Regions from separate parts of the Homo sapiens genome. Here regions 2, 3 and 4 are each linked to region 1. Evidence: promoter capture Hi-C in 16 types of primary human blood cells and fetal thymus (Javierre and others, 2016). All regions are on one chromosome and are shown on one strand. Each heading gives the region's core, a stretch centred on a gene start or on the middle of the fragment in contact. The rest is flanking DNA. Distances are from core to core; before and after follow the strand shown.

Region 1 (3,920 bases), core at 658-3,157:
CAGGCTGGAGTGCAGTGGCACAATCCGAGCTCACTGCAACCTCAGCCTCCCGGGTTCACGCCATTCTCCTGCCTCAGCCCCCTGAGTAGCTGGGACTACAGGCATGTGCCACCACGCCCAGCTAATTTTTGTATTTTTAGTAGACATGGGGTTTCCCCATGTTGGCCAGGATGGTCTCGATCTCTTGACCTCGTGATCGCCCACCTCGGCCTCCCAAAGTACTGGGATTACAGCCATGAGCCACAGTGCCCGGCCTTTTCTTTTTTGTTTTTGAGACAAGGTCTCTCTCATCCAGGCTGGAGTGCAGTTGCACAATCATGGCTCACTGCAGCCGCCAACTCCTGGGCCCAGGTGATCCTACTCAGCCTCCAAAGTAGCTGAGGACTACAGGCATGCACCGCCACACCTGGCTAATTTTTTGTACTTTTTTGTAGAGACAGGGTTTTGCTATGTTGCCCAGGCTGGTCTTGAACTGGGCTCAAGTGATCCGCCCACCTTGGCCTCCCAAAGTGCTGAGATTACAGGTGTCAGCCGCTGTGCCCAGCCGAGAGGTCCTGTTTAAATGACGTGAGTGAGACCTGAGATGAACCAGTCAAGTGATCAGGTAGGGGAATATTTCAAGCCTAGAGGACTGTGTGAAGATGGGGAAGAGGTGATGTCTAGGGCTGGGGGCGGGCAGATCCTGCAAGGCCTTGTCAGCCATAGAGAGGAGTTTGGGTTTGAGTCCAAGTGCAATGGAGGGTCGCAGAAGGGTTTTGAGTAACAGATGGATCTCATCTGACTTGTGATCTAATTTCTCTGGCAGGTTTTTCTGGAGGGCTGGCAAGAAAGTTAGGAAAAACACTTAATGTGTTGTCATCCACATGAGGGGTCAGGAAGCTTAGACCACCAGTAGTAGCAGGGATGCAAAGAACACTCACAGTTTGGTTCATCACACCCCCCACTCCACCACAAGAGTGAGCTCTATTAGAACAGGGACCCCCGGCTCCCTTTGATGTGCATTGTGTTCTTGGCACCTAGAATGGGGCCTGCACTTAATAAGATGGATGAATAGTGGTATTTAATGAGAAGATACTTAATGAAAAGAAGAGGCAGTTTTGGAGGAAAAAAATCATAGGAGCTCAGATATTTCTTAAATGCTGCTTTCTATTTATCTTTTTGAGGTGGAGTTTCTCTCTGTGGCCCAGGCTCGCAGGCTGGAGAGCGGTGGCGCGATCTCGGCTAACTGCAGCCTCCACCTCCCGGGTTCAAGCGATTCCCCTGCCTCAGCCTCAGGAGTAGCTGGGACTACAAGCACCCGTCCCCCACGCCCGGCTAATTTTGTATTCTTAGTAGAGACGGGGTTTCTCCATGTTGGTCAGGCTGGTCTCAAACTCCTGACCTCAGGTCATCTGCCCGCCTCGGCCTCCCAAAATGCTGGGATTACCGGCGTGACCCACCGTACCTGGCCCTAACTGTCCTTTTATTTGTCTGTGTCCCCTAGTGCATTTTATTTGTCTGTGTCCAGCGCAGGGATGCATCGCCTCCCGTAGGCTTGGCACAATTAGTGGCCCAGAGTAGGTGCCTAGTAAAGATGGATTTATGCCACAGCACATTGTAGTGCTAAAAAGAGGGTTTTCTCTTTAGATGATCGGGCCACGTTTTGGTGTGACCACTAGGGGGAGACGTGGCACCGGCGAAGCGCTCGCCAGACCCATTTTTTCGCTCCTTGCGTCATCGCATAGGGCGGGGCTCGTACCTGACGCCCGGCTTCTGGGCCTGCTCTCGCCCTACTAGGGAAAGGGGTGGGGCTTGGCTTTCGGGCGTGGGCGGAAATTGCCGAGAATCCTCGGAAGCTTTGCGAAAACACAGCGCGCCGTCGGCCGCGCTGCGAACCGGAAGTAATCGAAGAAGCCCCGGAAGTTTCGAACTACCACCGGCGTGCGTTCGCAGGTAGATCGCGGTGCCAGTTGCCATGGAGCCGGCCGGGCCCTGTGGCTTCTGCCCGGCGGGGGAGGTCCAGCCAGCGCGTTACACCTGCCCTCGCTGTAATGCGCCCTACTGCTCGCTGCGCTGCTACCGGACGCATGGCACCTGCGCAGAAAACTTCTACCGTGACCAGGTGCTGGGAGAGCTCCGCGGTTGCAGCGCTCCTCCCAGCCGCCTAGCAAGCGCCCTACGCCGGCTGCGTCAGCAACGCGAGACCGAGGACGAGCCTGGGGAAGCAGGCCTCAGCTCCGGCCCGGCGCCCGGCGGCCTATCGGGACTCTGGGAGCGGCTGGCGCCGGGCGAAAAAGCTGCCTTCGAGCGGCTGCTGAGCCGCGGTGAGGCCGGGCGGCTGCTGCCTCCATGGCGGCCGTGGTGGTGGAACCGCGGAGCCGGACCGCAGCTTCTGGAGGAGCTGGATAATGCCCCGGGTAGTGACGCCGCGGAGCTGGAGCTCGCCCCTGCGAGGACCCCGCCGGATTCTGTGAAAGATGCCTCCGCCGCGGAGCCCGCGGCCGCCGAGCGGGTTCTTGGAGATGTCCCGGGGGCCTGCACGCCCGTCGTACCCACCCGCATCCCCGCGATAGTCAGCCTGAGCCGCGGCCCAGTCTCGCCGCTCGTGCGCTTCCAGCTGCCCAATGTGCTGTTCGCCTACGCGCATACTCTCGCCCTGTATCACGGCGGTGACGACGCGCTGCTCTCTGACTTCTGTGCCACACTGCTCGGCGTTTCCGGAGCCCTGGGTGCCCAGCAAGTCTTCGCCTCTGCGGAAGAAGCCCTGCAGGCGGCAGCCCACGTGCTGGAAGCAGGCGAGCACCCGCCGGGGCCCCTGGGCACACGAGGGGCTATGCACGAGGTCGCCCGCATCCTGCTGGGCGAGGGCCCGACCAACCAGAAAGGCTACACGCTGGCAGCACTGGGGGACCTGGCACAGACCCTGGGCCGTGCCCGGAAACAGGCCGTGGCTAGAGAAGAGCGAGATCATCTTTACCGGGCCCGGAAAAAGTGCCAGTTCCTCCTGGCCTGGACCAACGAAAATGAGGCGGCCCTCACACCCCTGGCCCTAGACTGCGCCAGGGCTCACCAAGCCCATGCTGTGGTAGCCGAGGAGGTGGCCGCCCTCACTGGGGAGCTGGAGCGGCTTTGGGGAGGCCCCGTGCCACCTGCCCCAAGAACTCTCATTGAGGAGCTCCCTAGCTGAACGGGTTACCCTGGTCATTAATAAAGCTGTGACTGGTCAGCCCTGTTGCTTGTTTCTGAGGGATAGCTATTGTCCCACCAGACCCCAGATTCCTGGGCCCACAAGCCACTGCTCAGCTTCTCCCTGATCAGTGCTGACCCAGCCAGTCCTAGGGGAGAGAAGTGCACCAAGGGTTCCCAGTGTTTATCCAAAGGAGGAAGAGCATCTCCGATTTTGGTCACTGGTTTCATTTTTTTCCTTGCTCTAAACCACCTCTTCTCTGAGGTTGTTCATCCTCAGGGCTGGGTGGGGTGCAAGCCCTTGAGTCCCAAGTGTGTCGAGGCTCCTGGTCCTGGGTGTGCTGGTGGATGAGTGGGCACATGCCCCCACCTGGGGTGGTGGAGCCGCTTCAGTAGATGTAGGGCATGATGCGGTAAGGCACACGCCGGCAGTACTCCTGCCAGGCCAGGCCGTACTTCTGCAGGCACTGCCGCTCATCCCGGGCCTCACGGTGCACCAGCAGCGCGGTGAAGTAGAGGAGGTAGAAGTAGGGCAGCAGGTGTGACACCCCTGTAGAGAAGGAGGCTCTGTGACCACCCTGCCGGCCCCTCCACCCCGCAGTTCACAAACGTTTCCACACCTCATGGCTCATGTGGGCATCGGGGCTCAGCAGCAAAAGCGCCAGGGTCTGCAGCAAAGCACACGGTACTAGGTTGGCACAGAGGTGTGCCCCAGCCACACACTGGGTCCACCCCCAGCTCTCTGACTACTCTCA
Region 2 (3,924 bases), core at 1-2,500, 370 kb after region 1:
TGCCCCATCTGGGCGGCTGGAGGAGGAGGGGCTGGGAGGGCCCCCAGAGCAGCCTGCTGGGTGAAGGGGGCTTGGCTGACCTGGAAATGGCCCCTTCTGTGTTGGGAGGAGGGAGGACATGGGGATGGGCTTGGCTGAGAGCCGTCTTCCCATAGCGCATCGGGGAGGACTTCATCTCTGACCTGGACCAGCTGCGCAAACTGCTCTCCTTTGTGGATGATGAAGCTTTCATTCGGGATGTGGCCAAAGTGAAGCAGGTGGGGAGAGATGCAATGTGGGACAGCTGTGCTGTGTGGAGAGCGCTGGAGGGGCCAGATGTCTGGGTCAGGCGTGGCAAATAGAGCTCATCTCTCCTGCCAGCCCAGGCCGTTGGTGGAAGTTGCCTGGAGTCTGTGGTGGGAAGGCATCATCTGACCTCACATGAACAGTGCTGACATTGATTAGCAATGTCTGCCCTGGTACAGGAGTGGACAGAAGTAGCCAGTGAGCCTCCTGGTAGCCATCCTCCTGGGGCTGACTGGAGTGTGGACTGTAGGATTTCCTGAGGCTGTGGCCTGTTGGTGAGCCCTTCCCCGTCTCTGCCTCCAGGAAAACAAGTTGAAGTTTGCTGCCTACCTAGAGAGGGAATACAAAGTCCACATCAACCCCAACTCACTCTTCGACATCCAGGTGAAGCGGATTCACGAATATAAACGACAGCTCCTCAACTGCCTCCATGTCATCACCCTGTACAACCGTGAGTGGCAGCCACTCTACCCTGTCTCTCAGTGCTCCCCCGTGTTCCTGCGGCATAGTACATATTGCCCAACCAACATCTCCTTTGGACTTGGGACTACTCTTGGGACATGGAATTATCCCCATTTCACAGATGGGCAAACTGAGGCTAAGAGAGCATAGCAAGTGATTGTTCGAGTCAGGCCTACGGTGTCCCAGCCCAGCCTCTGTCAGGAGCTACTACCCAGAGGGAAAGGTAGGCCCACTGGATCCCTCTCGTTTCTCCACAGGCATCAAGAGGGAGCCCAATAAGTTTTTTGTGCCTCGGACTGTGATGATTGGAGGGAAGGTGAGAAGCCAGGCTCCAGCCCTGGGCTCCCGTCCTTTGATATATCCAGGTTGAGGTCAGCCCAGCTGAGTTGCAGGATAGGGGGTGGGGGGCCAGGCAGTAGAGCTGACCCCAGACTTTGTCCCCTCAGGCTGCACCTGGGTACCACATGGCCAAGATGATCATCAGACTCGTCACAGCCATCGGGGATGTGGTCAACCATGACCCGGCAGTGGGTGACCGCCTCCGTGTCATCTTCCTGGAGAACTACCGAGTCTCACTGGCCGAGAAAGGTGGGTGCTGCCAACAGGGACCCTAGGGAGGCTCTGACTAGTTCAGTCTCAGGAAGAGGTATCAGTCGTCTCTTCCTGGGATACTTGTACTTGAAAGAAGAATCTGGAGAGGGCAATGCTTAAACCATGAGGAGGCCAGGCGCAGTGGCCCATGCCTGTAATCCCAGCACTTTGGGAGGCCAAGGTGGGTGGATCACCTGAGGTCAGGAGTTCGAGACCAGCCTGGCCAACATGGTGAAACCCCGTCTCTACTAAAAATACAAAAATTAGCTGGGCGTGATGGCAGGTGCCTATAATCCCAGCTACTTGGGAGGCTGAAGCAGGAGAATCACTTGAACCTGGGAGGCGGAGGTTGCAGTGAGCCGAGATCACGCCATTGCACTTCAGCCTGGGCAACAAAAGCAAAACTCCGTCTCAAAAAACAAGAGGAAACAAAACAAAGCAAAAACCCCATGAGGATGCCCTCTAATGGTGGAATTTCAGGCAGTACAGGGTGAAATTACCTTCAAATCTGCAACAGAGGTGGGGAAATCCAGGTTGGACCTAGATGGTCAAGAATCAACAAGAGGTAGAGGGCAGTGGGGGTGCGGTGTGAGAGGGAGGCTTGGCTGGTGAAGACTGGGAGTTTGGGGTGGGGCGACTCTGAGTCCAGCTATGCCTGGGGCCAGCCTAATCTGAGAGTCCCCAGCTGGTGTGAGGGTCTTCCCTGAGTTGACTTGTCCCCCTGCTGCCACCCCACAGTGATCCCAGCTGCAGACCTCTCTGAGCAGATCTCCACTGCGGGCACTGAAGCCTCAGGCACCGGCAACATGAAGTTCATGCTCAACGGGGCTCTGACCATTGGCACCATGGACGGGGCCAATGTGGAGATGGCAGAAGAGGCGGGAGAGGAAAACTTCTTCATCTTTGGCATGCGGGTGGAGGATGTGGATAAGCTTGACCAAAGAGGGTATGGGGGTCAGGGTTCACGGGCAAAAGACACCCAGGTGTGGCTGCTGGAGAGTGGTGCTGGGAGCAAGCGGCACGTCTGGAAAGACTGGTCCAGGCCCAGCAAGGTCTTGGTCATGGCCAGCAGGATTCTGGGAAACTTTAGAGGGCGCTTACAGCAAATAAGGTTAATGAAATTGGAAAAGAAAGAAGTAATATAGAACTGAAGGAAAAGGAAGAGAATATTATATCAACCCTAAGAGATAATATTGTTTGGGAAATGGAAGTAAAAAAATCCTTGCTCTACGCCGGGTGCGGTGGCTCACACCTGTAATCCCAGCACTTTGGGAGGCCAAGGCGGGCGGATCACAAGGTCAAGAGATCCAGACCATCCTGGCTAACACGGTGAAACCCCATCTCTACTAAAAATACAAAAAATTAGCCGGGCGTGTTGGCAGGCGCCTGTAGTCCCAGCTGATCGGGAGGCTGAGGCAGGAGAATGGTGTGAATCCAGGAGGCGGAGCTTGCAGTGAGCCGAGATCGCGCCACTGCGCTCCAGCCTGGGTAACAGAGTGAGACTCTGCCTCAAAAAAAAAAAAAAAAATCCTTGCTCCCTGAAAGCCATGGGCAAAAGGGAAATATGGGCACAGTAGTTACAAGGGGCCTATGGTCAGAAACAGTTCTTCAGAGAAGACATTATCCTGGCATTACATTAAAAAATTTTATTTTATTTTATTTTAATGTATTTTTTTTTTTGAGACGGAGTCTCGCTCTGTCACCCAGGCTGGAGTGCAGTGGCGCGATCTTGGCTCACTGCAAGCTCCGCCTCCTGGGTTCACACCATTCTCCTGCCTCTACCTCCCGAGTAGCTGGGACTACAGGCACCTGCTGCCACGCCTGGCTAATTTTTTGCATTTTTAGTAGAGACGGGGTTTCACCATGTTAGCCAGGATGGTCTCGATCTGCTGACCTCGTGATCTGCCTGCCTCGGCCTCCCAAAGTGCTGGGATTACAGGCGTGAGCCACTGCGCCCGGCCTTTTGTTTTGTTTTGAGATGGAGTCTTGCTCTGTCACCCAGGCCGCAGTGCAATGGCACGATCTTGGCTCACCGCAACCTCCACCGCCCGGGTACAAGCGATTCTCCTGCCTCAGCCTCCTGAGTAGCTGGGATTACAGATACCCACCACCACGCCCAGCTAATTTTTGTATTTTTAGTAGAGACGGGGTTTCATCATTTTGGCCAGGATGGTCTCTATCTCCTGACCTCAGGTGATCCACCCTCCTCGGCCTCCCAAGTGCTGGGCTTACAGGGGTGAGCCACTGCGCCTGGCCTATTTATTTTTATGTTTTTGAGACAGAGTCACTCTGTCACCTAGGCTGGAGTGCAATGGCATGATTTTGGCTCACTGCAACCTCCGCCTCCCAGGTTCAAGTGATTCTCTCACCTCAGCCTCCCGAGTAGCTGGGATTACAGGCACCCACCATCACGCCCAGGTAATTTTTGTATTTTTGTAGAGATGGGGTTTCATCATGTTGGCCAGGCTGGTCTTGAACTCCTGACCTCAAGTAATCCACCCGCCTCGGCCTCCCAAAGTGCTGGGTTTACAGGCGTGAGCCACCGCGCCCTGCTTGAATCCTGATATCTTAGCATTGGAGAGAGAT
Region 3 (4,100 bases), core at 949-3,448, 380 kb before region 1:
CCTTTACACCTCAGTACGAAACTCCCCCATTATATTAGAAAATAAATAAAAGGTTACCATAAGTAAGTTCCAGAAAAACAACATATTGCCGACCTCACGGATTTTTACCAACCACTCGCTTTCCCTGTGGCCTTGGCACACTGGCATGCTGGTCTAGGATCCTCTACGCACAACGCCTGCTCGCCTCCTCCGTGTGGTTGCCAAGCCAAGCCGCCTGCTACCTTCATCACCAAATTGCACTCGCTCCTTCCTGGAATCCTTTTTCCTAGCTTCACCACCAAATCGTTAGCGCTCCTTCCTTCTTCCTAGCTTCCTTCACCAAATCGCACTGGCTCCTGGACTCTTTTCCTATCTTCACCACGAACTGCTGCTTGCTCGCTTGCTCCTCAGTCCTAGCTTCATCAAACACTGGTTCCTGGAATCCTGTCTGCTGCTGTCTTCCTAGATTCACTGAATCCACTTCTGTGTAGCACCTGGGTCAGCTGTCAATTAATGCTAGTCCTCAGGATTTAAAAAATAATCTTAACTCAAAGTCCAATGCAAAAACATTAAGTTGGTAATTACTCTTGATCTTGAATTACTTCCGTTACGAAAGTCCTTCACATTTTTCAAACTAAGCTACTATATTTAAGGCCTTCCAAATTCTTCTAACTCTTCCAAAAGCCTTCTGCCTTAGTTTTTTTTAAATTACACCAGTCCTTTTAGTAGCTTTTTGATGTGATTTTTAACCAACTTCCCCTTCTAGCTTCAAGTATTCTTCTAAATTGGTTCTGGTCTACGTAAACACCCTCATCTTCTCAAGCTTTACCTTCTAACTTCTGCACCACCAGAAATTAAATTGATGGGCTTTTAAAATAAATTGGTTACCAATAATTTCCTCATTTTTTCAGTGCTATTTTATCCAATTTTTGGCTTTATATTTTTCTATCTTCTATACTTCTCCAATACTTGTCTTAGCTTGTTTTTCATTTTCTATCTGAAACTCTTGACAATATTTTCATTTTCTATCTTGTTTCTATCTTCCAATTTTCTTCTAAGTTTGTACATTTTGCCCTTAGCTTTTTGTTTCCTAGCTTGTCTTTTTTCTTCTGCTTCCTACTTTTCAGGTTTAAATTTATCTTTTTTCTTCTAAAAGTATGTTTTTATCTTCTAATTTCCCTATCTTCTCTATTCTTTTCTTCGCCTTCCCGTACTTCTGTCTTCCAGTTTTCCACTTCAAACTTCTATCTTCTCCAAATTGTTTCATCCTACCACTCCCAATTAATCTTTCCATTTTCGTCTGCGTTTAGTAAATGCGTTAACTAGGCTTTAAATGACGCAATTCTCCCTGCGTCATGGATTTCAAGGTCTTTTAATCACCTTCGGTTTAATCTCTTTTTAAAAGATCGCCTTCAAATTATTTTAATCACCTACAACTTTTAAACTAAACTTTAAGCTGTTTAAGTCACCTTCATTTTAATCTAAAAGCATTGCCCTTCTATTGGTATTAATTCGGGGCTCTGTAGTCCTTTCTCTCAATTTTCTTTTAAATACATTTTTTACTCCATGAAGAAGCTTCATCTCAACCTCCGTCATGTTTTAGAAACCTTTTATCTTTTCCTTCCTCATGCTACTCTTCTAAGTCTTCATATTTTCTCTTAAAATCTTAAGCTATTAAAATTACGTTAAAAACTTAACGCTAAGCAATATCTTAGTAACCTATTGACTATATTTTTTAAGTAGTTGTATTAATCTCTATCTTTCAAAGAGAAAAAAACTTATCTGCGGTTTCCTCAAGCTCCGCCTGCCCCCTCAGCAGAAGCCCCTGCGCTGGCTGCCTCAATGCCTACCGCACAGCTCGGGCGAGGCGTATTTATAGACGGAGAACAACTCGCATCACCGGAATTCGATCACCTTCCGCCGCCTTTGTGAGGGAGGCAAAAAGTAGTTCTTCGGTTAAAAATAGGTTCTAGTTTTACTTTTCTAGATTTTTCTTAACAGCTTATGGAACTTGAATGCAAACTACACATGCAGAAATACTTAAATTACTAGCGTGTGGAAAGATTTGAGCTGCAAACTTTAGACAAAAGAAACATGGAAATCATATTTTAAACGGGTCATCAAACACCTCACAAAACCCCCGGAACTTTTAAAATACCTCTTAAAGCACTTCTTGTGTTCTCTTGAGGGACAGTAGGTATAGTTTACCACCTTTTGAAGGAAGATTAAAGTGTGATAGTTCAGGGCTTTACTTTCCATTACGCAACTGAGCCCCAGCCTTGCAGGGACGGTTGAGAAGTGGCAAAATGGCGGACTTTCTCCCCCAACTGCTTGCAGTCCTGCGACTTGCTCCCAAGACAGCCACACGTTTTGCTTTTTTGTTCGAGAAATCGGAGCAGCACGGGCTGTCTGCTTGGGAAATCTTAGAAACGTGAAAACCCACTCTTGGAAAACGCCTCAATCCCACACCACAGAGCTGCTCCCCGCCTGAGCCCCGGGGGCCGTTGGCTGCCAGTGGCCCACTCTGATCTGCGGCCCCCCAGTTGCCGCCAGCCCCCCACGGCCCGCACGGAAATTTTTCTACCGTTTTTCAGCTTCCAGGCTCTCCTGAAAGTGCTCACAAGGCAAATCGCCATGGAAAGCGAGTTCAAGTGGCCTTTTAAAGTAGACCAACTAAGCGAATGGCTTTGTCTCCGAAGACACAGAGACCTTGGGCAGCCAGTCAGGGACACACCCAGAAGTGTTTACACTGCTCTGGGTCTGCTTTTTTAGGGGTTTTTGTTTTGCAGATTCTGTGTTATGCCTGGTTAGGTATGAGCTTCAGACCTTCTGAACCGGAGCAGGAAGAAAAATAAAAGCTTTCCTCCAAACCCCAAGACCAAACTGCAGAGTTTGAGTGGTTTTATCTAAATACCACCACCTGGAATGGCCAGCCTATAAGGACAGCTAAGATAGCAGCACAACTCGTCGCTGCGTCCCAAGGACTCTGGGAAACCTGGGCTCCCGGAGGCGTCAGAGGGGACCTGCCTTCAGGCGAGCTGAGGCTTCCCGGCGCCGGGCTTCTGCGTTGCTAAAATGGCGCTGCGCTTAAGAGGGCAGGAGAGGCCAGTTGCGGGGCCCCAGTCCTTTACAGAAGTCTCGGGCTGCAGGCTGCGGAGGGGAGAGCGGGGGCGGGGAGGGACTGCGCAACCGGTGGGGCTGCGTCAGGGACAAACGCCGGGGGAGGGGCGGCTCGCGAGCGCCGCGCAGGGATACGCGAGGGCCGTGAGCCGCCCTCCCTTTGTGAGGCGCTGGCTCGTGGGCGGGCGCCACTGGTTCTAACCGGCTCTAGCCGGTCCTGGCCGCCTTCCCGGAGCTGTGGCGGTTGGCGCAGCGCGTGACTGCGCACGCGCGCCCCGCCCTAACGCCTGTGCCTGTTCTGGGGAATGGCATGGGGGCGGGGTGGCAGCTGGCCTGGGAACTTCTCGGTCGCTACTCTGCGCTGTCACTGCACTTGGGGGCTGGTCTTTCTTTCGTGGAGCTGCTGCCCAACTTCCATTTTCAGTCTAGGTCTTCCTTTCCCACCTCTCTCCTGTCCTTTGTCATTTCCTCCATATAGTCTCGACGTCATCCATTAATTTAAAATCAGAACACAAACCTCGTGTAGCTATCAAGGGCCATGGCATTATTGTAAAATATCTTCGTCGTTTGTATGTCACCAGGTCTTACTAGTCTAGAATTCTCGGGGCAGAAGTGGTCTCAGGCTGACCTTGCAGCAGCCTAATTTTTTAGAAAAGAAACTGAAGCAATGACCTAAAATGGAGAGTTCCAGGGCACACAAAGCTTGGAGCTGGACGGGGTGGTGACACCCACCCTCTCCGCTCCCTCACCCCCGGGTCTTTGGAACCTGTATCCATGGCTTGTTTTTAGGCAGTCAACTCCGAGGGGAGAGATTAGTGACGCTGTATAGGTTAGGATGGCAAAACTAACACAATGATACAGCAACTCTATGAAGTTGATTTCTAAAACTCCTTTGGCTCCTGTAAATGATGCAGGTTGTGTACGGTGTTGGGGAGCTGCCCTGGGGGCTCCAGGAAATGAGGGTCCTGTTTTCTGGGCCAACTCCCTGTCCCCACCTGCCC
Region 4 (4,062 bases), core at 769-3,268, 350 kb after region 1:
AGCCGTCATTAGCCATGAACAAACCTGACCTTTTATTCCATCGTGTGTGTAACGTGGTGTGACATGGTTCCCTTTAGGCTGAAGACAGTGGGAGCAGCCGAGTTCAGTCCTTGCTCTCCAACTAGGCAAGGTTCTCTCAACTAAACCAAGGGTATAGGAGTCTTGATTACTTTCAGTATGTTTTTTTAATAACCTGATCCACATGGTCTCTTCCCTTCTTGCAGCTGCTACTAAATTTTCATTCAGAATATCAAGCTATGGTCCTTTTTGTAATCTTAACTCAAAATTCTAGGAGTGTAACCTCTCTTTTTTATTACCGCAAAATCCAGCTGTGGTAAACTGACCATTTTATCATTACATTTTTTTACTTGTAGCAACAGCATTTTACTCCTTAAAAAAATGAGAGAGAGAAAATCTGCTTTCTGGACTTGTAAACTCTGGTGGAGAATCATAGGTTTTCCCCTTGCTGTTTGCAGGTTCAGACCCTAGACAAGTATGACCAAATCTGCATTTGCAGCCTCTCGCAGAAGCTGCTTTAGCACTTTAACGTTTTTCTCTACCCAGACTCCCCAACCTCGAACAGCCAGAAAACAGGTTGTCTCCTGGGCCTTGGACACAGCCAGCCAGGCCATTGAAGGAAAAGCAAAGACGAAGCGAACCATCTCTCTCCATTGTGGGGGCCAAGTAGCTGCAGTAGCCTTCAGTCCCAGTTGCATTGGGTTAAAGAGCTCATACATACTATGTGTTAGGGGTACAGAAGCTTTTCCTCATAGGGCATGAGCTCTCCAAGAGTTAACCTTTTGCCTAAACTTGGGGTTTCTGTGGTTCATAAAGTTGGGATATGTATTTTTTTTCAAATGGAAGAAAATCCGTATTTGGCAAGAAGACTCCAGGGGATGATACTGTCCTTGCCACTTACAGTCCAAAGATTTTCCCCAAAGAATAGACATTTTTTCCTCTCATCACTTCTAGATGCAAAATCTTTTATTTTTTTCCTTTCTCACACACACCCCAGACCCCTAACGTTAAGCCAGCTTCCATCTCCCCATTCCACACGATCTTGAGTAGCACACGTTATGGTCGGTTCCTCCGAAGAGTGTTGTATTAGGGTCTGAGAGGCAGAGGGGCTGGGAAAGACTTGTTATAGTCCGTGTGGGAATGAGAGAAGTCGGTGCAGAATAGTAAACGGGAGTCTGTTTCCCACAGGTCCCCTTCCCCTGAGCCCATCTACAATAGCGAGGGGAAGCGGCTTAACACCCGAGAGTTCCGCACCCGCAAAAAGCTGGAAGAGGAGCGGCACAACCTCATCACAGAGATGGTTGCACTCAATCCGGATTTCAAGCCACCTGCAGATTACAAGTAAGCGGAGGGGCTCGGTCATCTGGGATGAAGACACATGCAGATCATGGGTGACCTGCTGGGATGGGACAGTATTGGTACTACTCACCTCTTGCCTCAAGTCACCCATAATTAGCACTTGGTACCAATATTTGGTTTTAGAAAAGCCGCTGGCTGTGTCATTCTCCAGAAATGTGCGGTGACACAGGCTTTTCTTTCTTAGACCTCCAGCAACACGTGTGAGTGATAAAGTCATGATTCCACAAGATGAGTACCCAGAAATCAACTTTGTGGGGCTGCTCATCGGGCCCAGGTGAGTAACTGCTGGTCTATAGGATATAGAATTCCTTTAGAGCCTGTGAGATGTGTCCGTTTTGTGCCTAATTGGGGACTGTTGGCTTACTTTTCCCCTTTTTGGTAGGACATTTCATTTTGGCTGAATTAATGCCTTTCTGTGAGAAGGTGTCTTAACTTCCCCACTAGTGCGGAGAAGTCAAATCCTCAGGTTTACTGTGGCTGACCATAATATAGAGTTCATGGAGCTCTTGGTGGGAAAATCCAATTCTCTGCGCTTGTGGTTTCCCACCAATGCCAAATTGGTCCAGCCTCTCTTCCCTCTTGAGTGTGAATTTGTCAGGTATAAACTTAGTCATTTCTGCCTCTCTAGAGGGAACACCCTGAAGAACATAGAGAAGGAGTGCAATGCCAAGATTATGATCCGGGGGAAAGGGTCTGTGAAAGAAGGGAAGGTTGGGCGCAAAGATGGCCAGATGTTGCCAGGAGAAGATGAGCCACTTCATGCCCTGGTTACTGCCAATACAATGGAGAACGTCAAAAAGGCAGTGGAACAGGTGAGCGGTGAGCCCAGAAAGGAAGCCTCCTAGCAGAAACCTAGGTGGAGGCCCTAAGCACTTAACTGTCCATTGCATTTTCACTAGATAAGAAACATCCTGAAGCAGGGTATCGAGACTCCAGAGGACCAGAATGATCTACGGAAGATGCAGCTTCGGGAGTTGGCTCGCTTAAATGGGACCCTTCGGGAAGACGATAACAGGTATGTGATCAGTTTAAAGGAGAGTGTAGAGACCTGAAGAACCTATGGAAGTAGAGATTGTTCCCTTGCATTGACCTCTTTTTCCTTTAATAGGATCTTAAGACCCTGGCAGAGCTCAGAGACCCGCAGCATTACCAACACCACAGTGTGTACCAAGTGTGGAGGGGCTGGCCACATTGCTTCAGACTGTAAATTCCAAAGGTGAGGGGCTGGCTCTTGCGGTTTCCTGGTAGCCTGCGATGTGCAGGACAACTTTTCTGGCACATTCATTGGTTGCTGTTAATCTTACCAAGAGAAACATCCTTTCTGTTAGTGTGGTCTGTAATGGTGTGATTTAAAGCCCAGGATGATTAGAAATAGGCTGTACAGATACCCCTGTTTGTTTGTCTTGAGCCCAAGAAAACTGGAAGTTTCCATTTTGGGTATGTTTTTACTGGGGCTCAATAGGAAATTCACTGCTTTTGCTGTTCAGAATTGGTTCAAGAAGACTAAGCAATCTCTACAGATTTCTGACCAGTTGCAAGTCAGCACTCGATATCAACACTTTCTGACTGGCTGGCGAATATGTAAGGTTTTGTTTAGGAAGTTCGTTCTGGCAGTTGTGCCAGTCTTGCATAGATTTTCCTTTCCTCAAACTGGGAATGAAGTTTGATGAAATTGACTTGAGAGAACCTGTGCTTCATCGGTGCTCAGGGTCTCCTGTGCTCTTCGCCCAGGGGCCCCTCTACTCTGGTGATCCCAGATGCAGAACTGGGCACGAAACTGAAGATCTGATGAGACTGTTGAGAGCCATGCCCAGTAAGGGGTTAGAAAGATGTGTGATGATCTGGTGATTGAATTCTTCAGAACTTTCCATATGTTGGTTCCTCAGGATAAAAGCTTCCTTCTTAACAAGTTTTTCCCCTTTCTCTGTTTGTGTCCCCCACCCCACTTCAGGCCTGGTGATCCTCAGTCAGCTCAGGATAAAGCACGGATGGATAAAGAATATTTGTCCCTCATGGCTGAACTGGGTGAAGCACCTGTCCCAGCATCTGTGGGCTCCACCTCTGGGCCTGCCACCACACCCCTGGCCAGCGCACCTCGTCCTGCTGCTCCCGCCAACAACCCACCTCCACCGGTGAGCCTGGGGGCTGGCTCTCTTGGTCTGGCTTCCCCATTCTCTACTGCAGAGACTGGGAGCTATGGCCACGTGGTTTGGGTAGAGCAGACAATGGATGTGGATGGCAACATTGTTCTTCCGGGATCTCAGGCCAGTTTGGGGACTTCTCACTTCGGGAAGACCTTGTTCTTGTGTTCTGGTCCTGTGTCATAACCCGAAGAACAATGTTGCCACTAGGAGGCGCAGGCAGGGACGTTGGCAGGAAATGCTCTCACGTAGTCTCTCATGTCTACCACCCAGAGCCGCCCACCCTGGATGAATTCTGGCCCTTCAGAGAGTCGGCCCTACCACGGCATGCATGGAGGTGGTCCTGGTGGGCCCGGAGGTGGCCCCCACAGCTTCCCACACCCATTACCCAGCCTGACAGGTGGGCATGGTGGACATCCCATGCAGCACAACCCCAATGGACCCCCACCCCCTTGGATGCAGCCACCACCACCACCGATGAACCAGGGCCCCCACCCTCCTGGGCACCATGGCCCTCCTCCAATGGGTAAGTAAGTGTCAGACC

What was found. Contacts are between HindIII fragments. The CHiCAGO score rates a contact against its expected background, and 5 or more counts as called.
Region 2: a fragment that was not itself captured here is called in contact with the fragment with the promoter of ZNHIT2 in region 1 in 1 of 17 cell types (naive B cells); the score reaches 5.2 in naive B cells.
Region 3: a fragment that was not itself captured here is called in contact with the fragment with the promoter of ZNHIT2 in region 1 in 1 of 17 cell types (fetal thymus); the score reaches 5.4 in fetal thymus.
Region 4: a fragment that was not itself captured here is called in contact with the fragment with the promoter of ZNHIT2 in region 1 in 3 of 17 cell types (naive CD8 T cells, naive CD4 T cells and M1 macrophages); the score reaches 5.8 in naive CD8 T cells.

What each region holds. Positions count from the first base shown.
Region 1 is chr11:65,115,688-65,119,607 of GRCh38, reverse strand. It overlaps ZNHIT2 (zinc finger HIT-type containing 2), which reads left to right and starts at 1,907. Exons shown (of 1, transcript NM_014205.4): 1 at 1,907-3,205. The coding sequence starts at 1,955. The coding sequence ends at 3,166. TM7SF2 (transmembrane 7 superfamily member 2) reads right to left here. Exons shown (of 10, transcript NM_003273.6): 10 at 3,378-3,715. The coding sequence ends at 3,555. RefSeq lists enhancers at 1,657-1,951, 1,944-2,487, 3,034-3,578, 3,579-3,920. The HindIII fragment of the contact is 3,565 bases long and covers 1,838-3,920 here.
Region 2 is chr11:64,748,736-64,752,659 of GRCh38, reverse strand. PYGM (glycogen phosphorylase, muscle associated) reads left to right here. Exons shown (of 20, transcript NM_005609.4): 13 at 156-257; 14 at 589-736; 15 at 1,005-1,063; 16 at 1,194-1,335; 17 at 2,077-2,284. Among named protein-coding and RNA genes, the nearest start is that of RASGRP2, 6.6 kb to the right of the region's middle. The HindIII fragment of the contact is 2,045 bases long and covers 228-2,272 here.
Region 3 is chr11:65,496,772-65,500,871 of GRCh38, reverse strand. MALAT1 (metastasis associated lung adenocarcinoma transcript 1) reads right to left here and starts at 1,827. Exons shown (of 1, transcript NR_002819.5): 1 at 1-1,827. It also overlaps TALAM1. RefSeq lists enhancers at 1,937-2,016, 2,067-2,136, 2,697-2,766, 2,827-3,066, 3,296-3,440 and 3 more, a silencer at 3,107-3,166 and a cis regulatory region at 3,360-3,375. The HindIII fragment of the contact is 1,283 bases long and covers 1,557-2,839 here.
Region 4 is chr11:64,767,553-64,771,614 of GRCh38, reverse strand. SF1 (splicing factor 1) reads left to right here. Exons shown (of 13, transcript NM_004630.4): 4 at 1,207-1,359; 5 at 1,562-1,651; 6 at 2,006-2,189; 7 at 2,277-2,392; 8 at 2,486-2,593; 9 at 3,329-3,509; 10 at 3,771-4,044. Among named protein-coding and RNA genes, the nearest start is that of SF1, 9.0 kb to the left of the region's middle. The HindIII fragment of the contact is 2,511 bases long and covers 763-3,273 here.